7 separate regions of the Homo sapiens genome follow, and all the other regions are linked to region 6. Evidence: promoter capture Hi-C in 16 types of primary human blood cells and fetal thymus (Javierre and others, 2016). All regions are on one chromosome and are shown on one strand. The core of a region is centred on a gene start or on the middle of the fragment in contact, and the rest is flanking DNA. Distances in the headings are between cores, read along the strand shown.

Region 1 (3,141 bases), core at 630-3,129, 130 kb after region 6:
ACATTTTAGAGATGATGAAGCTGAGGTTTGGAAAGGCTAAACAATGTGCCCAGTCACACAGTTAAAGACTGTGACACGGATTTAAATCCACTGTATATATTTCTCCTAATCACTATGTTGTCTGCCTTTGGGAATAAGTCCAACCAAGTATTCACCTCCTGGGATAGGCAGGAGGATTTAACTATGAAAAGCACCTACCCCATAGTAAGTGCTCAATAAATGCCAGTCCTCTTCCTCCCCTGAGGGCACCTATCTGTACCTGGCACACAGAAGGCACTCACTAAGTGTTTTCTGGATGGAGGGAGGGTTGGAGGGGTGGGAAATGTACTAGATCTCCCTGGGCCATAGACTCACTGTCTATAAAATGAGGAGATTAATACGCTTTCTATATAGCACTATGGTGAGAATTCTGCAAAATGTCCAGAAAGCTGCTGCCATAGAATAGATGCTCAGCAGACATGATTCCCTCCCCCTCCCCCTCCCCACTCCACCTGGGATGAGCCCTCTTATCTCACTCAAGTTGTTTCCTCTTTCCGAAGGATTAGGGATCATGATAATCTCTTTCAGTGCTATCTAGAGAAAAACAGATAGTTGAGATAAAAGTACTTTGTAAATTGCAGACCCCTTATCCCTCAGTGAAGATGCCCTTGCTATAACCTCAGGAAGCACCAGCATACCTGGAAGATATTCACTCCAAAGATCAGGTTGTGGGCAAAGGGAAGGGAAACCAGAGGCAGTGAAGGTGCACTGAGGAAGTGCAGAGGCAGGAAGGGCAAGCAAGCCTGGCTGTGAATCTCAGACATCCAGGCAGCTTGCAGCTGGTAACGGCAGAATCCACTCAACCACCAGGTAAAGTGAACATATCGCTGAGTGCCAGGCCAGCTTGGAGAGCTCCTGCATCCGCACCCAATGGAGCATACACTGCAGACCACACACTGGCTACAAGAGGTCATCTCCCAGCCTGACCCCTCCTTGTAGCTGACAGCAGCAACAAGCTGGGGATGTGAAGTGGGTGGGGCGTAAATTCCATTCCCTCAATCTATTTGCACTCTGAAAGGGCAGAAGTTCAAAAGCCTGAGGAAGCCTAGTGAATGTCTGTCCTTGGGGAAAAGCAGATGCCTCCCGGAGCTCCTAAAGCATCCAAATCTACTCCTTGTGATAAAAAGATACAAGGGTGGCTTCTGTGTACAACTGAAGTCCTAAGACCAAAAAGAGGATGTGCAGAACCAACAATACAGCCTACAATCATATATTGAGCCCAAAGAAATGAGGAAAATGAACCTTATATATGTGGCCTTTCTGAGCCATCACAATAGACCTGGGAGGTAAGAATTATTGTCTGCTTTTATTGACGAGGAAACAGTTCCATTGAGGTCAAGTGACATGCCACAATCAGAGCACCAGGAAATAATGGAGCTGGGATTTCCAAATTTGCTCACCTGCAAACACCAGCATCTTTGCTTTGTACTGTGCTGAATGTTGCACATAAAGCCCTATCCAGGGCACCTTGGAGGATGATGAAATGAAATGACCTCAGAATAAAACATTTCCAGGTTGGCGTTATCCTTGGGCAAGTATAAACAGGCAGAAGCAGAAGGAAGAGACAAAGAGGCAAACATCTGCATATTTCTCCTGGAAGTGCTGGGAGGATGTTTTGGATCATAAAACATTTATGCCTTTGCAATTACAGCATTTATGACAGCAAGAGATGAATATCTCTCCCTGTTTATGAATAGAGATAGAGAGTGACTATAGTACATGAGAGGAAAGGCTATGTGGATCATTAATTAAAATATACTTAGGGGATTTTTCTGGGGAAATGCCAGGAAATCTCAAAGATTATCTTGCTTCAGGCTTGTTCATCTATTGTACACTGAGCTGATGTTTATGAAGCTCCCAATATGTGCCAGGGTCTGTACTTGGTCTAAAGGTTCAGATCCCAAGCCCTCCATGCACTCTTTGACCTTGGACAGTTGCTTGACCTCTTTTCGTGCCATTCTAAGCCATGAAAAGGTGATGCTGACCCCTCCTTTAAAAGTAGCTGGAGTATTAGATGAGGCAAACACATAAATGCCCAATACAGGACCTGGCACCTGGGGAGCATTCCACTAAACTTCAATCTCCTCTTTATGCTTTCTTCTGCCCAATTTAAATAATTAAAGTAATTCCAAAAATACCTATAGTAACAGACCATGGTTAGTTTGAGTCAGGGATTACCAGTCAACATACAAAAAAAAAAACAAAAATCAAATGAGAGGAAAAATTCCCTGACCTACAAGAACTAAGGAGGGTAGGGGAAGAGAAGCACCAGCTGTTTTTTGCTAGGGCTAACATATGCTGGTGGGAGCAAGCATCCCATCTCCCTCTAAGATGCATGCTTATGGACATACACATTTGCTTTTCTGACTCTGGCTCCTGGCTAAGCCTTGCCACTTACAACAAATCTTTCTAGAGCCACAGCTATGCTCCACACAGAGCCTGATGAAGACCTTTAGAGGCCCTCGTACTAAATGACAAACATTTTTAATAGGAACAAAAAGTTGTCTTTCCTAGATTTTTGGATTATAAAACTCTGGCTGAAGTCACTGCATCCTCACCCCCTCTCTGACTCTCTTTGTCTGCCTCTGTCTTCCTGATGCCTGAGAATCTGTGCATTTTGCCAGTTGGATAATCTGGCAAAAGTGCCAGGCACTGACTGAGGCACTAGGAATATAGGTCCCCACCTGTAGGCAGGTTGAATTTTCAGAGCGAGAAAAGTCATAAGCACACAAATAAATAATAAAATTCGATCCTGGATTTCAGCCAGTGGTTTGAAAAGATATGTATGTAGGAATAATCTCATTATCAGACACCATGTCTATTCAATTGGAGGCTAATGTTGCCATGACCAGCACCTCTTAGGAGCCAACACCTCTTCGGTGCCCCCAGAATAACAAGAAGTGATGGAGATGAGTCAGGGCTGGAACACAGAAGACATTGCATTGGCCTGGTGTTCCCAGGAACCATCCTGAGAGCAGGCATTAGGACAGCTGTAATGCATAAACCTTTTCTCAAATAAGCTATTATTCCATCCTCTCAAATTTCTTCCTCATTCATTACTGCTTCCTATCACAATAATTTTCCTCCTGTGATAGACAGAGT
Region 2 (3,361 bases), core at 130-2,629, 190 kb after region 6:
GGTAAAGCCTCACCTTTTCTTTTTCTCTGTTCTGGGTGAGTAAGGAGACTGGTGTGGTGTCACTATGATATTAAAAGATGGGGCCTCTGATCTATGCTCTGGCCTCTGGGTCCTCACACATGACTGACAGATGCCAGGCCTGATATGGACCTGTGTTGTCCTCCCTGGGTGACTCAGCCCCGCCTCAGCTCTGGCTAGCCCTGAAGGTTCTGCTGGGCCTCAGTCACATACTCCACTGGGCCTATGAGAAGGGTACCCATGCTAAGCCTCTGCCACAATCTCCTCCCCAGGAAGAGTGCCCCCAGGATGGATGCAGGAATTGTCTGGATGCTTCTCACTCCATGGAGGAGCAGCCAGGACCAAGACTGCTCCCCGCCCAACAAGTGGTACCACATCTGGCTCTGCAGCTCTGCCTCTGTGCTTCTGAAAGTGCTGCCTCTTCTCTGCACCACCCTCCTCTCCCTAATTGACATGAGTGACCCAGCAAAGAAGCATCCTCCAGCGACCCAGCACAAACCTCCTCTGCTTGGGTGCTCCCTTCATCTTGAGGAAGGCCTCCCCTTCCAGATATTAGTCCAGACAAGCAGGGTCAGAATGGGACACACACATCTGAGTCTTTGCATCCTCTGACCCTCACCCTAACAAGGTTTTCCCCTTCCTCTCCCAGCCCAATCAGAACATCTCTAATGTGACATCCGCCTTGCTCCTCATGGTCTTGTTGTCTCAGTAGAGGAGAATCCTCTTTACATGGCACAGGAGGCTCTGTGGTCTAAGTTGGCTGAATTTGACTATTTACATAGGAGCTACTGGACCACTAGGAAGCGAGAGTAATCGCTGACAAAAATACATGGTTTAGTCACCAAAAAATAACATTCCTCTACTCCACCCATCTCCAAAAAACATAATTGTACACAGTTCAAATGGCTTAGATCCAAAGCAGGCAATAACGAATGTTGGCAAGGACGTGGAGAAAAGGGAACCCTTGTACACTGTTAGTGGGAATGTAAATTAGTACAACCACTATGGAGAACAGTTCAGAGGTTCCTCAAAAAAACTAAAAATAGAGCTACTGTATGTTCCAGCTGTCTCACTGCTGGGTATATACCCAAAGAAAGGAAATCAGGATATCGAAGTGATATTTGCCCTCCCATGTTTGTTACAGCACCATTCACAATAGCCAAGATTTGTAAGCAAGCCAAGAGTCCATCAACAGATGAATGGATAAAGACAATGTGGCACATATACACAATGGAGTATATTCAGCCATTAAAAAAGAATGAGATTCTGTCATTTGCAACAACATGGATGGAATTGGAGGTCATTATGTTAAGTTAAATAAGCCAGCAGGGAAAGATAAATGTCACATGTTCTCACTTACTTGTGGGATCTAAAATCAAAACAATTGAATTCATGGACATAGAGAGTAGAAGGATGGTTACCAGAGGCTGGGAAGGGTAGTGGAGGTTGGGGGGAAAGTGAGGATAATTAATGGGTACAAAAAAATATAGAATAAATAAGACCTACTGTTTGATAGTACAACAGGGTGACTATAGTCAATGATAACTTAATTGTACATTTTAAAATAACTAAAAGGGTATAATTGGATTGTTTGTAACACAAAGGATAAATGCTTCAGGGGATGGATACTCTATTCTCCAAGATGTGATTATTATGCATTGCATGCCTATATCAAAACATTTCATGTACCTCATAAATCTATATACCTAGTATGAACCCACAAAATTTAAAATTTAAAAAAGATAATTTTTATAGTGATTCATTCCATAAAAATATCTTAAAGGTTGTGTCATAGAGAGGGATTGGTTGGAGATGAAGTGCTATTTTAATTTAGTGATCTGAAATGACATCTCATTATCCTAGGCAAACTAACACAGAAGCAGAAAACCAAATGCCACATATTCTCACTTGTAAGTGGGAGCTAAACATTGGGTACACATGGATACAAAGATGGGAAAGATAGACAGTGGAGACCATAAGAGGGAGGAGGAATAAAGGGAAGCAAAGGCTGAGAAACTACCTCTCGGGTACTATGCTTATACCTGGGTGACAGGATCAATCTACCCCAAACCTGCCCATGTAACAATATACCCATGTAACAAACCTGCACATGTACCCCTGAAACTAAAATAAAAGTTGAAGGCCAGGAACGGTGGCTCACACCTGTAATCCCAGCACTTTGGGAAGCCAAGGCGGGCAGATCACTTGAGGCCAGGATTTAGAGACCAGCCATGGCCAACATGGTGAGACCCTATCTCTACCAAAAATACAAAAAAAAAAAAATTAGCCTGGCGTGGTGGTGCTCACCCGTAATCCCAGCTACTCTGGAGGCTGAGGCACAAGAATTGCTTGAACCTAGGAGACGTAAGTTGCAGTGAGCCAAGATTGCACCACTACACCCCAGCCTGGGCGATAGAGTGAGACTGTCTCAAAAATAAAATAAAATAATAATAATAATAAATAAAATAAAGGTTGAAGAAAAAAGAAAAAAAAAGAAATGGCCTCTCATGCTAAAAAGTAAGAAAATGCTCAAAAGACAAAATGATGGGATTATTTCCAAGGGACCCAGTAGCCAATTAAAAGATCATCCAATGGCCAAAGCTGGAACCATTTGAGCAACCAAATCAATAAGATAGTATTGGATTATGGCCCAAAGTATAAAATAAATATCCATGAGTCTGTGTTGATATAAACAAAAAAGAGTGACTAAGTTAACAAAAGGAGAAGAGACAAATCTGCTATACCAAAAAAAATACCAAATAGTTTATGCAGATACCATACCCTCCAGGAGCTGGAGTGCAGTGGCACAATCATAGCTCACCACAGCCTTGACTTGCCAGGCTCAAGCAATTCTACCTCAGCCCCACAAGCAGCTGGGACCACAGGCATGCACTGCCATGCCTGGCTAATTTTTTCAAAAATTTCTTGTAGAGACAGTGTCTCACTATGTTGCCCAGGCTGGTCTTGAACTTCTGAGCTCAAGCGATCCTCCCGCCTCAGCCTCCCAAAACGCTGGGATTTACAGGCATAAGCCACTGCTCCCCACCTAGTATTAATAATTGTAATGATAATCCAAAGAAATATTTTAATACTTTTAAAATCTTAAAGCCACATGAAGTTAAAATTTATATTTCTATATATATTGTTGTGGCGGAAAGGTATAAGGTGGTCAATTCAAAAAACTTTCAAACAGAAAAATATATACTATATTAGGAAAAAGTCTGTAGAAGAAGTAGAATGAGAAAAAAGAAAAATAGAGATTTGCCAACAGTTTGAGTTATGTTTTAGGTGGAGGATGGTGGCTATTACATCACAATGGTATTTACATTCCATTGGGTGTATT
Region 3 (3,451 bases), core at 606-3,105, 230 kb after region 6:
TAGGCTAGCAAAGCTTCTAGGGTAGCTTAGAAGTAGGGAGCTGGGGAGAATAGATTCCCCTCCAGGAAACGCAGAGAGAGAAGCCCGGGATCCCAGAGCAGTGGTAGCACACAGGATAAGCAGAAGCCATAGGAAGCCTGCCGGGAGGGAGGGTGTCATGAAAAACGGTTTGGGCCAGAAAAGCAGCCTCCAGGCTGAAATACATAGGAAGGTTTATGTTAACATACCCCACCATCATCCTTTACCCACCAACAATGCCAAATAGAATTGGATTATACTTACCTATATACCATTAAAGGATAATTGCTAGAAGAGCACATAATCATAACACTCACTGAAATATCAAAGAATTGCATATCAATGATTTAGCTCATTAATTTGTGAGAGAACTAGTAGGACGTCACATCTAGTTGCAAGGATAATTCCAAGAACCACATATACACAAGCAAGAAATACTGAAATGAATAAAGATGCAAAACTGGTTTATTCCACAGGAGATGTGGTAAGACAATTGTATTACCACCAGAAAATGTATTTGCATATCTACGGACAAGAACCATTTGCATCACTCTCAGTCATCTACAACTTACAGTTCTGAAACAGTTCAAAGGCAACGAAAGGCCCAGAGGCCCCATAGAAACACCTAGTTTTCTGATGAAGACACCCAGTCATCTTTTCGGTCCATTTCAAAGTCATTCACCATTTTTCCTACAATATCAAGATCTTATCCCAATCACCTTATGTCCTCACTCTCAGTTGTCCATGGGAGCATGGGAATGGACAGAACTTTCCAGGAAGTGATATGGCCTATCCTGGAGCTAGGGAAAATGAAAGTGAGCAGTAAGAAGTGGGCATGAAATATAGAATCCTTGAGCACAAAAAGACCTCATACCAAAGACTTTATTTTACAGAAGCAGAAATAGACCAGAGAGGAAAGGGGATTTTCCTAAAGACACAGAGCAGAGTGGACATGACACCTCCCCTTCTATAGCACACACTTTTTAAGGCAGAGGGGCTGAAAAATGGAGGGTACCAAGGGATTACTTATTCTCTCTGGTCTAGGGAGAGTGACTACCAGAAACCTCTCCCCTAAGATGTGTTCTTTACCTTCCTTGAGCCACATCTACAAAACAGGGGTGGTACTCACACCTCCCTCACTGTGCATTGTCAGGTTTAAATGGGACAGGTTTAGATAGAATGCCTATCCCATAGCAGGTGCTTCATAGACATCATTTTCTCTCACCCTCCTGAGTAGCTGTGTGACCCCAAAGAAGAGACAGGGGTCATTCTGCTTTCACTTGGCCGGGGGTTACAATCATACAAAAAAGACTGTGGCTTCTTACCCACGATGAGTCATATGCTGCTTTCCATCTCAGTTTCAATTCATCTGGAGACAATTCTGATGATTTCAGACCCCGGGCTCTTTCAGCCCCAAGGCCTCAGGCCACTACCACATTTCCTCTGCCAAGCTGCCCCCTTATAACAAATTTGAAGAAAACACAGAAAAAGAGGAGAAGACAAAAAAAAATTAAGTATAAAAGTTTCCCCCCCATTCTCCAGGAGTCAGGTGGTGGGTGGGTGGGTGGAGACATGGCCAGGCCATGGTGGGAAGAGCCCCAGTGAATTATACCCTTGGTGCAGGGAACCCACAAACAGAGACACTGGCCTTGTTTCCCATCACTGCGAAGCCATCATGACCTTCAAACAGCTTGCAGGGCGGGGCCCTTCACATCTTCTGAGTCCTGATATGACTGAGCATCCATTATATAACCATGTTGTGAATAACTTGGTCTCAGTCCTCGACCACAATCTCAATTTCGGGGCATCCCTGATCTCTCTCTGCAGAGAGATTCAGAAGAGGCCCCAGAGATAGTAAAAGTTGGGGGATGGTGGGAGTTGTTTTTTGCTGTTGTCTTATTCCGATTCACACCACCATGTGATAATGGGACCTTTCCCTTTCTCTGGGAGTGAACCTTGCAAAACCACCCAAAGTCAGAGCAGGAAGGGACCCCCAAAGCTCCTGGGATTTAGTTCTCCACCTTCTACCGGGTGAAATGGCAAACCTAATAAAGGCAAAATCCTGGCTCTTCCAGAACTGATAAAAATGTAGACCCTGCCAGGCACAGTGGCTCACACCTATAATCCCAACACTTTGGGAGGCCGACGTGGGTGGATCATCTGAGGTCAGGAGTTCGAGACCAGCCTCACCAACACGGCGAAACACTGTCTCTACTAAAAATCCCAAATTTAGCCAGGTGTGGTGGTACACGCCTGTAATCCCAACTACTCAGGAGGCTGAGGCAGGAGAATGGCGTGAACCCGGGAAGTGGAGCTTGCAGTGAGCCGAGATTGCACCACTGCACTCCAGCCTGGGTGACAGAGCGAGACTCCATCTCTAAATAAATAAATAAATAAAATCTTCAATGGAACCTTTGTGAAGCTCAACACATCTTCAATTAACATGCTGAGGATTGTAGAACCATATATTGCATGTGGGTAGCCAAATCTGAAGTCAGTAAATGAACTAATCTGTAAGTGTGGTTATGGCAAAATCAATAAGAAGCGAATTGCTTTGACAGGTAACACTTTGATTGCTCAATCTCTTGGTAAATATGGTATCATCTGCACGGAAGATCTGATTCATGAGATCTATACTGTTGGAAAATGCTTCAAACAAGCAAGTAACTTCCTGTGGCCCTCCAAACCATCCTCTCCAGAAGGTGGAATGAAGAAAAAGACCACCCATTTTGTAGAAGGTGGAAATGCTGACAACAGGGGGGACCAGATCAACAGCCTTCTTAGAAGAATAAATGAAGATGTCTACCATGATTATTTTTCTAATCTGGTCAGTTAATAAACAGTACCTGCTCTTGAATTGAAAAAAAAAAAAAAAGGAAAACTCAATTATCAACCTTAGTTTTATCTCCTTTAAAATTTGTATCTTATTTAAAAAATATATTATCAGAAGCTCAAAGAACCATGAAGCCTGGGTTAAAATGCAGTAAGCCGGGATCATGCCACTGCACTCCAGAGCCTGGGCAACAGAGCGAGACTCTGTCTCAAAAAAAAAAAAAAAAAAAAAAAAAAATGAATTCTTAAAACTTTTTCTGGCTGAGCACAGTGGCTAACACCTGTAATCCCAGCACTTTGGGAGGCTGAGGTGGGTGGATCACTTGAGGTCAGGAGTTCAAGACCAGCCTGATCAACATGGTAAAACCCTGTCTCTATTAAAAATACAAAAAAAAAAAAAATTAGCCAGGCATGGTGGTGGGTGCCTATAATCCCAGCTACTCAGGAGGCTGAGGCAGGAGGATGCCTTGAGCCTGGGAGGCAGAGGTTGCAGTGAGCCAAGTTCATGCCACTGCACTCCAGACTGGGTGACAGAGCAAGACTTAGTCTCAAAAAAAAAACAAACAACAACAACAACAAAACTTTTTCCTTGGCCTTCTCT
Region 4 (3,123 bases), core at 553-3,052, 170 kb after region 6:
GAGAGAACACAAAATCAACAAGTCAGATCTCATGGGCGTCTGCTTATCGTTCCACCAGGGCAACAGGTGTGACACTACTGGACACTTGGAGGGTCTCACCCCATGCTTCTTTTAAGAATGTGAGCTGAAGCTGATTCCGTTATTTAAAGGTATAGGTTTGTGTTGTTTATACAGTATTCCCAGTAAACAGAGGACAAAGTTGCTCAACTAAAGAAACAGCAGGCCAGGGGCAATGCCCCACATTTAATCCCAGCTCTTTGGAGGGCCAAGGCAGGGGGATTGCTTGAGGTCATGAGTTCAAGACCAGCCTTGGCAACATACTGAGACTACCATCTTAAAAAAAAAAAATCAGAAAGAAAGAAACAGCAGCCCCATTGGATATAAAACTGGCTGTGCTGCCCATGGGTTTGCTCTTCAAAGCTAAGCCTTTCAAAGGGGTTTTCATGGGCTGGCTTTAAAAGCTCACCCTGGAGCTGAGATCATGCCACTGCACTCCAGCCTGGGCGACAGAGTGAGACTTCGTCTCAAAAAATAAATAAATAAATAAAAGCTCACCCTGGTTAGATGGGATTCTACCATATAAAAAAAAAATAAACAAGGGCCGAGCACGGTGGCTCACGCCTGTAATCCCTGCACTTTGGGAGGCCAAGGCGGGTGGATCACGAGATTAAATCAGGAGATTGAGACTATCCTGGCCAACATGGTGAAACCCCGTCTCTACTAAAATACAAAAAAAAAAAAATTAGCCGGGTGTGGTGGTGTGCACCTGTAGTCCCAGGAGGCTGAGGAAGGGGAATCGAACCCTGGAGGCGGAGGTGGCGGTGAGCTGAGATCATGCCACTGCACTCCAACCTGGTGACAGAGTGAGACTCCCTCTCAAAAGAGAAAAAGAGAGAGAGAGAGAAAGAAAAAGAAAGAAAGAAAGAGAGAGAGAGAAAGAAAGAAAGAAAGAAAGAAAGAAAGAAAGAAAGAAAGAAAGAAAAAGAGAGAGAGGGAGGGAGGGAGGGAGAGAGAGAAGAGAGGAGAGGAGAGGAGAGGAGAGGAGAGGAGAGGAGAGGAGAGGAGAGAAAAGAAAAGGAGAGAAGGCCCTCTCTGGTGCAGAGATGTGGGATGAACTCTAAGAATCTCCCTCACCCAATGCAGCCTCTTTCGACTTTCTTTACCTGTCTAGAGACCAAGTTCAGGACCATCTGTAAAATGAGCATAAGGTGTGGTACCTGCCCTGCCTGCCACTAAGAGGCCTGCCTGAGCTCACATGACTGAAAAGCCCTCACTTGACAAAAAAGCTCAATAAAGATGTGCAAACCTGTTGAGGTGGGGCATGAGGTGAATTTTGAAGGCTATGTTGAGTCAAAAAAGAATGGGCACTTCAGTTGTGGAAACAGTGTGAAAAATATAGGAACACAGGGAGAGGAGTTGGCTATTTAGGAAAGAAGACGAGTTTACTGGGGAGAGAGACTGGCATAGAACAGCAACAGCCAGTGAGACCACAGTGGTAGGTGGAGCTGGGCTGTGGACCTCCTGAGGCTTTATTGTGAGGGCTGTAAGAGTCACTGTATATTGTTAGGCAAAATGGTGCTTCTAGGATATCACTTTGCTCTAGTGTGCTTCCTCCCTGGTGACTCGCTTGTGTTTCTCATTTATTGTAGCATTTTACTTACCTCTGTCTCAAAGAGGACAAAAAAGATGAGGAGATTAAAAAGAAGAGTTATTTCAATGAGTATTCACTGAGTACCTGTTGCATGCCAGACATTATTTTGGAAGTGCTGGAGACATCATAGCGAGGAAGACAGACAAGGTCTTTGGTCTCATGAAGATAATATTCTACTGGGGGAAGCTGGTAACAAACCAAGTGCTACATGGAAAACAAAAATTCAGTGATGGCATAGCTAGATAGAATTATATAACAATAGATAGATAGATAGATAGATAGATAGATAGATAGATAGATACCAACATGGATAGACCTCAAAAATACGTTTATTTTGTTGTTTTTAAAGCAAATTATAGAACAATATGTATAGGATAATAACACTACATTTTTTTCAAATACACAAAAAATAACATATATCATTTATGGGTAGTTACATATGTAGTAGAAGTATAAAAATAGACATAAAATTTGTGAATGTTATTACCTTTGGAAAGGAAAGAAGGGAAAAGGCTACAAAATTTTACTTCTTTAAAAAAACAGCATGAAGTAAATATGACAAAGTGTTGTTTATTAATTTTGGAGAGTGTGTAAAATGTCTGCTGTGGAAAATAAAGCTGAGGGGAGGAAGTAAAAAAAATTCAGTGATGGAATCAGGAGTGATGGGGTGGGTAGAAAGGAACAATTGTTGTTGATGATAAAAAGAGAGAGACAATTGCAGGCACAAAGATTAAGTAGCACAGTGGCTTTAAAGTACAAATGAGCTTGAAGTGTTCAAGGAACCAACAGAAAGCTGGTGTGATCCAAGAAGAATATATGGGAGGGAATGCAGTAGGAGATGAGGTCGGAGAAGAAGACAGAGGCCAGATCATGGAGGGCTCTGCATGAGGAGAAAGAGTTGAGTTTAAGCCAATTAGAATCCACTAAACATAAGCAAGGTAGTGACAAAATCTGAGCTATATTTTCAAAGATCAATCTACCTGGAGTTTAGAGAACAGATTGGAGAGGCACAAGAGAGGAGAGAAGGACACCAGTTGAAAGATTGTTTGGATGAACCAAGGCAAGAGAAAGTGGGGCTGTAATCTTTATATGTAGATTCAAGAGAAATTGATTATTTTAAACTATGTTTTTCAACTGTATTCCACATGATTTAATACTGGATTGATTGTGGGGATCGAGGAAAAGAGATGAAGGTAACAGCTAATTTGGGGGACTTTAGCATTTGGGTAGCTGTTGTTGTCATTTACCAAGGTGAGGTCAACAGAAAGAGGTCTTGGGTATAGGGAGAATCCAGAGCTATGCTTTCACTATGTACATTTGGGGATGCCTATGCAATAGCCAGATGGATGTGTCAGGCAGACAATGGGCTCTATAAGTCTACAGTTCCAGGGAAAAGTCAACACCAGCCAATATGCTTGGGAGCCATCAACACAAAGATATTTGTAAAGCAATGGGACTGATGAGGTCACCTA
Region 5 (3,456 bases), core at 249-2,748, 150 kb after region 6:
GATAAGTGATCTAAAGGAGAAAAACAGGCTGTAAAGATAAAGAACAAAAATAGGACCCAATTTCCAAGTCAGTGATTCAGTGAAGGCCTCTCTAAGGCCACTCTGCACAGCGTGTTTGATTTAGTTAACATTTAGACTCATGACTCCATAGCACAATTACTGGCTGATAGCAACTGTGATTCATTCGGTGAATATTGCTAATTACTAGAGCCTTCATGGGCAAAGGACAAGGTGGCTGGGCACTGGCCAACTGCCAGCTGTTTCTGGGCCAAAGCAAACAACTTGTGCCTTAGAATGCACTGGTATGGCTGGTGACAACCCCACCAATCCCTAGAGCTCCACTCCAGCCTCTCAATGGAAAACTTTTCTCCTGCAGCCACTACAGGAAGATCCAACGTTGTCCTTGGCACTCCCTACTGTTTTTCAAGAATGACGCCCAAATAGACTTTGCTTTCCTGTGTGCCAGGAAGTTTTCCTGGTTTTTGCCCTTGTGCTAACAAACATGATCTGACATCATAAGGATAAGGAAAATTACCAGCATGTGTCCCTTCTTTCAAGAGCTCCATGGGGAGGAAAGTATGGTCTGGATGAGAATACCCATTTTACAAAAAGATAAATCAAGGCTCAGAAAGGAAGCCATCATATTCATAGGAATAAAGGGACTGAGCCAGATCTGACCAAATCCAATACCATGCTTCTAGTCCCATGATGCTGCCTTAGGCGTTCAGTCCATGAGCAAAAGGGTCAGAGAGACCCCACTCTGCGAGTCTAGCAAAAATAAATCCCTGTGTTTACGAGTCTGATAAAGGCAGGAATTGAGGAGTGAGGTCTGAATGCTTTGGGATCTGCCCTTCCCTTCTCTCCAGGACACTGTCACACTCTGTCCATCTGCCCATGGGCACTTGTACTTCTGAGGCATCACCATCTTTCACCAAGTGTCCCAAGACAGAACCCTGGGTCATCTTAGGCTGGCCACTCTCCCCATCCCTCACATTTAATCACTCACTAAGGCCAACTCCTGAGTCTCAAATTAGACCCCTTCTTTCCTTCTTTATGTCAATAGCCTCCTCACTGGTCTCCCTGCACCAAGTGAAGCCCACTGAAGTCCATCTGCTCTACAGCAACTACAGTGGTCTTGCTATTACAAAAACAGTTCATAGAACTCTCCTTCTTCGAAAGGCCAGGGTAGCTTCCTATCATCTTTAGAGGGAAATCCAAGCTCCTGGATTTGGCATTCAAAGCCCTTCCTGATCCAGTCCCTACCAACCTCTCTGCTTCATTTGGTTTCCCATGTCCCCTCTGCCTATGTTATAGAGGCAGTGATGTGCTAATAAATGTTGAACATCCGGCTCTCCAAAATAAAGCCCTGATTCGCACCATTTGTTGCTATCTGTGTTGTAAATATTTCCACCATGACCAATTACAAGCAACCAATGTGTTGCCAGTGAGTTCAGAAAGGATGTATTTCAGCCATATGGATACAATAGATATTTACAACCACAAGAGGATAGATAATGGATAATGTAGTAATAACTAAGAAGTGACAAGTTTGGAGTATTTATTACCTTTGTTGTAATATAATTTATATAAATGTAGGTTTATGTAATTTAATTTTATTATGGCTGTGTTTAATGACCAGCTCACAAAACTCCTGGTAATTTAATATTCCCTTCTTGTAAATTGGTACACATTTGCCCTAGCACCCCTGATTAAAGCACTCTGGGTAGAATGCCTGCCCTCCCCTACCCCGTGGTGAACTGCTAGTCATTTCTCAAGACTCTGCTCAGCTGTCCTTTCATCTGCGGAGCCAACCCTGAATGCCTCATGCAGGGACTCTCACAGGAACCCTCCCCATCCCCTGTCTCGGGCTTGTTGTCTGATCGTCTGTCTTTCCCCCATCTGATGGTGTCTTACTCACTTTTAGGAACTGTCATCAGCTGAACTCTAATAAATGTTTGTGGGACAAACTATTCAACATAGTTTTGTATCTGGATTCCTTCCCTATATACATTTGTCTTCCAATTTCCAGTTTTTATTCAATCCTTCCTATTCCCAAGGATGTCACCCAGAGCAAAAACAGGCTTTATATGGGAAGTGGAAGCAGGTTGGGGAAAATGGAAGGGGAAGTTCCAACCCAAATCTGCAAAATGCATTTTAATCATTTATGGTTTTGAATAAATATAAATCCAGTTTACACTCACATCTTCACCCCAGACAAACTTTCCCTAGTGAGGAGAAAGGAGAGGGACTCAGAATGGGAGGACCTAGACCTATCAAGTAGCTGATCGTAGGATGACAACTGGGATTGACCCACAGCTAAACTGGAAGACAGAACTCCTGGGCACCTGCCATGGAACAGGTTTAGGTGGCCACTTCTCATTTACTCAGTTTTTATTCAAGTCTCACAATAATTTTATCAATCAGAAATCATTACCTCCATTTTACAGCTAAATAGACTGAGGGTTGAAGATATGCTGTGACTCTTCCAAAGTCCCAAAGGTAATGAGCTGTGGAGCCAAGATTTAAACCAAGGTCTGGCTGATTGCAAAAACCATGTTGTTAAACACTGTAATAAAACATACTATTCCTCTCTTCCCTGACCTCTTTAAGAGAACAAAGAGAAAAAGAGAGAGTGAGAGAGAAAGGAAGAAGGAAAGGAAAGACAGAAAGAGAGAGAGGGAGAGAGAAAGAAAAAAGAAAGAAAGAGAGAGAGAAAGAGAAGAAGAGGAGGAAAAAAGAAGGGAAGGAAAAGAAAAGAAAGGAATATTCACAAGATTATTGAGAACCTCCTTTGAGGCAAGTACAGCACTAGGTGCTTTACCCTTGTTAACTCATTTAATTATTAATATGGTTTGGGTCTCTGTCCCCACCCAAATCTCATGTGGAATTGTAATTCCCAATGTTGGGGGAGGGACCTAGTGGGAAGTGATTGGATCATGGGAGTGAACTTCTCTCTCGCTGTTCTCATGACAGTGAGTGAGTTCTCACGAGATCTGGTTGTTTGAAAGTGTGTAGCACCTCCCCCTTCGCTCTCGGTCTCTCTCCTGCTCCACCATATGAAGATGTGTCAGCTTCGCCTTCGCCTTCCACCATGGTTGTAATTTTCCTGAGGCCTCCCTAGCCATGCTCCCTGTACAGCTTGTGGAACCATGAGCCAATTAAACCTCTTTTCTTTATAAATTACCCAGTCTCTGATAGTTCTTTATAGCAGTGTGAGAAGAGACTAATACAACTTTATATAGAAGATAAGTATTATTATTCCCATTTTACACCTAAAGAAACTGAGGTTCAGAGAGCTTGAGAAAATTGGCCAGTGTTGCACATCTCATCCACAATAGAACTTAGCTTTCAAAAGCCTTCTTCCTTCTAGGGTCCACATTTCTGACCGACACAAGCTTCTAACCCCACTTCCCTCTGCAGCCACTTAAACTGTACCCCACTTCCCCCTGCAGCCAC
Region 6 (3,130 bases), core at 220-2,719:
TCTCTGCTGGCTCAAAGTGATGCGCTGCAGACAAAAAGTGAGCAGAAAGGAAAGGAGGTGCTATGCAGAATGAGCTTCTTCCACGGTGATACCAAATGGAGCTTTCAAAGGCCCACATCTGGAGGCAGCAGCTATGCAGTGATTAACATTTTAAACGGTATTTTGAAATGGAGATCATTAGTAACCACAGATGTGATCTGACTCTGTCCCCCAGGTAATCTGTCTATTGTATCTAAATTCCAGACTTAGCCCAGTAGACAGCTTGGGATGTTTAACAGGAATTGTCCAACACCATCCCCAAATCTATTTTTATTCATGGAGTACTCTGACATCATCTCGCTTGGTCTTCCTGATGACTGTAATGCAGATTGGGAACAGAGAAAGCCATAAAGACTTGTATGATGGCCCAAGGCTAAGAAGGGAAAGGGCTGAGACCACACTTCAGGTTTTAGCTTTCAGGTGCAGTGAAGATTGAATGACTTAGCACGAGCTTTCAGCCAGGCAGGCTGCAAAGTGCACCCAAGTTCTTTCAGTGATCGACACTTGCGACTTAGGTTGAGATAGTTTTCATCCTCCCTGAGCCTCAGTTTTCCCATCTGTAAAAAATAAACATTGCCTGCCTCGGAGGGTGGAGGTGGAAGTGGAATGAAGCCACATGTAACTCCTAGCGCTGTGCCTGAGACAGTAGAGGTTCAATTATAGTAGTCACATACACACACAACACATACATACACAAGACACAACACACCACACACAACACATACATACACACCACACACAACACTTACATACGCACCACACTCGGCATGCATTGCAGATCACAAATGCACACCACACACACACTGCATACATATACCATAGAGAACACACAACACCTACACATACCCCCATACCACAAATACACACACACTACATAGTACACCACGCAGAACACACACAGCCCCCATATTCCACACCACACCATCTCACTGCCAATTCCTTCCCCTCTTCATGAGTTTTACGGCAGGTCCAGGTTCATCTGCCAGTTTAACAGATCCCAAAACTTCTGCAGGAGTGTTTGTTCAAAAGATTGATATTTCCAGATTCCTGCTTTCTGACAGTATCTTTGAACCCCAAATTTCATACTGCCATGAGCCAGTCCCCCTTTGGAGAAATATCTCCATTTGTGTGCCCTTTTTCCCCCAGGGAACCTGCAGCATGTCCCTTTTTCAGCAGTAGCCTATCAAACCGAACCCTTTGGAGTTATTACACTGCAGTCCGAGGGATCCGGCCTCCCTGAGACCCAGCAAGGACTCATTATCTGGGGAGGTCTTCTGAGCCACAGGCCTCGCTGAAAGAAGGTGCAGCTTCTTGAACAGGAAGGCGTTTTGTGGCAGAGTCTAAACGAAACAGAAGTTGCTTTGTGTGTGCGCACGCATGCACACACACACACACACACACACACATACACACACACAGTCGGGGAACCGTCATTTTCCTACGCGCCCTCTGACATCAGCCACCTTCTCTGTAGCTAGTTTCTCTGCACACAACTTAATCCCTGGCAATGAAAAATGAACCTCTCCCCCACCCTTGCTGCCGCCTCTCGCCTCACGCCCCCAGAGAAGAGTTTCTCCACCAGGCAGCAGGTGAAGGTTTTTTTCCAAGTCACATGATTCAGGATTCAGGGGGAGAATCCTTCTTGGAACAGAGATGGGCCCAGAACTGAATCAGATGAAGAGAGATAAGGTGTGATGTGGGGAAGACTATATAAAGAATGGACCCAGGGCTGCAGCAAGCACTCAACGGAATGGCCCCTCCTGGAGACACAGCCATGCATGTGCCGGCGGGCTCCGTGGCCAGCCACCTGGGGACCACGAGCCGCAGCTATTTCTATTTGACCACAGCCACTCTGGCTCTGTGCCTTGTCTTCACGGTGGCCACTATTATGGTGTTGGTCGTTCAGAGGACGGTAAGTGGACTCCTCTTCCTCCCTTTCCTTTTCTTGTTGTTTTCCCGAGAGAAAGAGCCCTGGGAACAAATGATATTCGTTTGTTGGTTAAGAGCACAAAATAAAATTAAATAAATAAACTCTCTCTCTCTATATATATATATATACTATAGTATATACTGTATAACGTAATACACTTATGTTACATAATATATATTATATTATACAGTATATATTATATATATATATATATATGAGAAAGGGAGAAAAGAAAGAGGAACTTAACTCTCTAAAATAATTTGGCTTGTTGAGAAAAATATTGTTAGACCATCATCTTAAAACTTTGCAGATCTGTCTGAGCAAAACAGTGGAGGGGAGCTATTGGCCTTTTAAAGTTAAGATTTAAATCTTAATGAGCCAGAGACCCATATCAAGGAAGGAAGCAATAGAGAAACCTGATAACACATTTGCACAAGTTGTTATCATGTCTTCAAGGACTTCAGACTGGATTCTGAGGTTCTATATCCTAAGTCTGAGTGTCCTGGAGGTTTCTGAGGCCTCACCCATTGCCAAGAGTTTTGTTTTTGCTTTTGTTTTATACAAGGAGCTAAGTTTCAGAGGCCAAGGTCTAGAAGGAAAGGAGGCGAAAGAGAAGACCATGGCTTCTTAGAGCTTTGGACATTTTGGTGTTAAAGCCAGCAAGACAAATCGAAAGCTTCCTCTTAAGCCACAACTTTGAAGAAGTTAGGGCGTCACAAAAAAAAAAAAAAAAGAAACAGCACATAGAAGCAGAAAGTTGAAAGGTTTTTAGCACCTGTTCTCTCTGATGTTCCTCACAATACTAAGCAATCGTTGGGTACACACTGTACAGGGTCAGACTGTCTTCGGAGATTTACTTTGAAGTAAATGGTAAGATTTGTTTCTGAAAACAGAAGAGGAGGAGAAAGAGGAAGCTTCTTCATATTTTAGAAAATTGGTGTTTACAGAGAATCTACCAGTATATATTATATAGAAAATGCTGTAGTAATAGCATATATTGCTCATGAATTTTTTGATGAAGTTGTTAATGGGTAATTTAAGAGCTGCACCCACCCACATGACCTGCCAAAGTGAGAATATTTCTGTTTCTTACTTCATAGTGCCTACTTTTCGTGGTATTATAATCCTGCTGAATTTATTCTGGTTTTTCTTCAGTTTTCT
Region 7 (3,443 bases), core at 492-2,991, 210 kb after region 6:
TCCTGACTTGGCCTCCCAAACTGCAACAGGCATGAGCCACTGCACACGGCTGATGAGCTTTTTATACAAGCAGAATCATGAAATATGAGATTTTTGTGACTGACTTTTTTCATGTAGCATAATGCTTTCAAGGTTCATCCATGTTATGGCATGTATCAGTACTTCATTCCTTTTTATGGCCAAATAATATTCCATTTGGTGGATATACTACTTTTTCCAGTCATCGGTTGATGGACATTTAGGTTGCTTCTACTTTTCAGCTATTATGAATAATGCTGCTATGAATATTCATGTGCAAGTTTTTATACAGACAGACATTTTCAGTTCTCTTGGTTACATACCTAGGAGTAGAATCACTTGGTGATATAGTAACTTATGTTTATTTTAACATTTTAAGGAACTGCCAGATGGTTTCCAGCACTTTGCATATTTTCACATGGTATCATCCCACATCTGCTTTTTCCACTCACTGTGTATGTTTTGGAGATTCCTCCAATTTAATACTTTGCTGTCATTTATTTATTTTGATGGTGGTACAGAGTACCATTTGTGTGAACAAACCACCATTTATTCCCTTTCCCCTATTGCTGGATATTTAGATTCTTCCCAGCTTTCCATTACCATAAATAACACTGCCACAAATGGAGTTTCAAAGCTTTCCATCTATGGACCAAATCTGCAGAGCAGGAGAGCCTCACAGACCACAGAGTAGCTACTGCTAGCTGACAACCCTCTCAAAACTCTTGGGATGATGGTTCTAACTTGTGGGTAGAGAGTTGGAGTGCATGAACTAGAGGGATGCATCGGAAGATGCCCGAAACATAACTAAAGCTCTGAGACCACAGCATGGTTGTGTATAATTATTCCCAGTCATTTGCTGCACTCCCTGGAAGAGATCACCGTGGCTGCCCTGCTTGGCTTGGCTGTGATTGGTGTGGCCTCAGGATATAAGCAGTAGTGATGTATGCAACACGGGAGCAGGAGTCTTGGAGCCAACCCTGTCACTCCCCTCTGCCATGCGACAGGAGCAGCACAGCCCAGATGAGAGCTGCATCCTCAGCCTGGATCTCAGAATAAAAAGCCCATGGAGCAGAGCCACAGTTGGCCCACAGGGACCTACAGAGTGAGCCAAACACACTCGCAGTGTTGTAAGTCTCTGAGATACTGGTGTTGCAGCACAACTGAACAAAATCTCATGGGAGAAGTCTCTTCTTTATCATCATCCCAACTGAACTCTCTTCAGTTTTGACCTAGGCATCCACCTGCCTAATTTTTAAACCCTTTTAGGCATCATTCAAACTAACGTGCATTTGCCATAGACTCTGTATATGACCCAGTCCAGAACTTGGGGTTGAAAAGCACAAGGAATATAATAATAGCTAGTGATCCTGAGAGCCTGCTCTGGGCCAGCTGCTGCAACAGGCACTTGTGCAGATAGAGTGTCAGTTGTCCTCGTGTTACCCGAAGGAGGCAGGCATTACAACTCTCCCCAATTCATTGATGAGGAAATTGATGTGCCAAGGTGTTTAATAACAAGACTAAGGTAATACTTGATCTAGCAAGAGGCATTTGGAGGAACTGTACCCAAGCACGCTGACTCCTGTATCCTATAAGTCACACCGTTTTCATCCAGTGAGCTTGCAGACGTGCAGTGAGAAAATGTTCTTCCATCATGCCACCACTGTTTGGGGGGCATAGAGCACATGCCAGCCTCTGTGCCAGGACTGGGCGAAAGTAAGCCAGACAGACACAAATCCTACAATTCTTACCCTGAGGGAGACGAAAAGAGAGGAAGAAAATATTTTCCTCCACTGGTTTTTGTTTTTTATAGTTTCAGGGGGCACATGTACAGGTTACATGGATATATTGTGTAATGGTGAGGTTGGGCTTCTGGTGAACCCATCACCCGAATAGTAAACATTGCATCTAATAGGTAATTTTTCAACCCTCACCCTCCTCCCACCCTTCTGGATTTTGGAGTCACCAGTGTCTATTATTTCCCTCTTTATGTCCATGAGTAACCATTGTTTAGCTCCCACTTATAAGTGAGAACACACGGTATTTGATTTTCTGTTTCTGAGTCATTTCACTTAGGATAATGGCCTCCAGCTCCATCCATGTTGCTGCAGAAGATGTGATTTCATTCTTTTTTATGGCTGTGGGGGGAAAACATTTTTAACTAATTACATCTTATTTATAAGAAATATCTAGAATAGGCAAATCATAGAGACAGAAAGATGAGTGTTTCCCGGGGTATGGAGGATGGGGAGTGACCGTTTAAAGTGTATGGGGTTTCCTTTTGAGATGATGAAAATTTCTGGAACTAGATAGCAGTGATGGTTGAGCAACACTGTGAATGTACCGAACGTCACAAATAGCAAATTTTATGCACGTTTCAGCACAATGAAAATAAAACTAATTGTATAAATGTGTATCGTTGCAATAAGTGCTGTAGGGAAAGTACAGGGAGCTGTCAAGCCACATGACAGGGAGGCCTGCACTCATCTGGGGTATCAGGGATGCTTCTCTGAGGAAGCAACGCCAGCTCCTACCCCACAGGGTTGTGTGTGCCTCCATGCAAGACCCAGCAGAGGTCAGCCCCAGTGTGTTGTGCCCTCGTGCACACTGTAAACTCCCTTCACAGCAGTTACCTCACTGCATCATTGTTTGTTTTTTGTGTAATCCTTTGACAAAGAGTCATTCACCTACTAGAAAGCAGAGTCCTTCATTCTTTCAATCACCAGGTGGTTTTCAAGCTCAGAGTCCATGTAGACATCGCTGTAAATACGACTACAGAGTTGCTGCCCTTGCGAGGCTTTAAGCTTAGTGGGGGCGTGGATAACAAGCAAGCAAACCTGTGTGAGCAGATTGTGACTGACAGGGCAGTGAGCAGGGGAAACAGAACAACAGCCATCGCAGGGAGGCAGGTGTGGACAGGCTCCCCAGGAGGAGCCAGCACACAGAGCAGGGAGAAGGCGGCTCCAGGGGAGGAAACAGCAGGACAAAAACCTGGAGGCTGAAAAGAACTGAGCACACTGGGGTGATTAACAGGAGGCTTCCAAGGAGGCACTGGCATGGGAGGAAAGAAACCCATCAAGGCAGAGGGTGAGTGTCTGTCTTTTCCCTGCTGGAAACCGGGCATCTGGCGCGGTGTATGAAGGAAGGGAGGGATGGGGGACCGAGAAGATCTTCTTGGGAGCCCTGAGATCTGGATTCCAGTCCAACCCTTTTCATTTGCATCATGACCTCAAGCTAATCCAAGCAGACACTCGCTGCAGATTCAATCGTTAACAAGAGGGTCACACTCCTGCCCTCAGCAAACTTACATTCTAATGGGAGGAGGAGGGGAAAGAACAAGGAGAGAATCTTCTAGTTACCAAAATCCACCCACAAAAGGAAGAGATGAGCCATCTAAGTGGACCAGGAGAATGCGCGAGTGTAGA

What was found. The method cuts DNA at HindIII sites, captures the fragments that hold promoters and counts their contacts. A CHiCAGO score of 5 or more calls a contact.
Region 1: a contact is called between a fragment that was not itself captured here and the fragment with the promoter of TNFSF8 in region 6, in 6 of 17 cell types (total B cells, naive B cells, non-activated CD4 T cells and 3 more). The highest score is 8.9, in total B cells.
Region 2: a contact is called between a fragment that was not itself captured here and the fragment with the promoter of TNFSF8 in region 6, in 14 of 17 cell types (naive CD8 T cells, monocytes, activated CD4 T cells and 11 more). The highest score is 19.5, in naive CD8 T cells.
Region 3: a fragment that was not itself captured here is called in contact with the fragment with the promoter of TNFSF8 in region 6 in 11 of 17 cell types (activated CD4 T cells, total CD8 T cells, non-activated CD4 T cells and 8 more); the score reaches 22.0 in activated CD4 T cells.
Region 4: a contact is called between a fragment that was not itself captured here and the fragment with the promoter of TNFSF8 in region 6, in 11 of 17 cell types (total B cells, activated CD4 T cells, naive B cells and 8 more). The highest score is 14.9, in total B cells.
Region 5: a contact is called between a fragment that was not itself captured here and the fragment with the promoter of TNFSF8 in region 6, in 9 of 17 cell types (total B cells, naive B cells, activated CD4 T cells and 6 more). The highest score is 13.3, in total B cells.
Region 7: a contact is called between a fragment that was not itself captured here and the fragment with the promoter of TNFSF8 in region 6, in 12 of 17 cell types (activated CD4 T cells, non-activated CD4 T cells, total CD8 T cells and 9 more). The highest score is 18.0, in activated CD4 T cells.

Annotation. Positions count from the first base shown.
Region 1 is chr9:114,797,472-114,800,612 of GRCh38, reverse strand. The region is part of intron 1 of TNFSF15 (TNF superfamily member 15); the gene reads left to right. Among named protein-coding and RNA genes, the nearest start is that of TNFSF15, 7.0 kb to the left of the region's middle. The HindIII fragment of the contact is 8,771 bases long and covers 1-3,141 here.
Region 2 is chr9:114,743,142-114,746,502 of GRCh38, reverse strand. No RefSeq gene overlaps it. Among named protein-coding and RNA genes, the nearest start is that of TNFSF15, 61 kb to the left of the region's middle. The HindIII fragment of the contact is 9,237 bases long and covers 1-3,361 here.
Region 3 is chr9:114,695,281-114,698,731 of GRCh38, reverse strand. It overlaps LOC105376231 (a long non-coding RNA gene), which reads right to left and starts at 2,882. Exons shown (of 2, transcript XR_007061745.1): 1 at 283-2,882. RefSeq lists enhancers at 427-626, 1,612-1,731, 1,742-1,791. The HindIII fragment of the contact is 3,680 bases long and covers 16-3,451 here.
Region 4 is chr9:114,760,113-114,763,235 of GRCh38, reverse strand. No RefSeq gene overlaps it. Among named protein-coding and RNA genes, the nearest start is that of TNFSF15, 44 kb to the left of the region's middle. The HindIII fragment of the contact is 4,539 bases long and covers 1-3,123 here.
Region 5 is chr9:114,776,401-114,779,856 of GRCh38, reverse strand. No RefSeq gene overlaps it. Among named protein-coding and RNA genes, the nearest start is that of TNFSF15, 28 kb to the left of the region's middle. The HindIII fragment of the contact is 3,798 bases long and covers 1-3,397 here.
Region 6 is chr9:114,928,930-114,932,059 of GRCh38, reverse strand. It overlaps TNFSF8 (TNF superfamily member 8), which reads left to right and starts at 1,469. Exons shown (of 4, transcript NM_001244.4): 1 at 1,469-1,951. The coding sequence starts at 1,757. RefSeq lists an enhancer at 1,816-2,375. The HindIII fragment of the contact is 2,687 bases long and covers 1-2,647 here.
Region 7 is chr9:114,721,104-114,724,546 of GRCh38, reverse strand. No RefSeq gene overlaps it. Among named protein-coding and RNA genes, the nearest start is that of TEX48, 41 kb to the right of the region's middle. The HindIII fragment of the contact is 2,167 bases long and covers 658-2,824 here.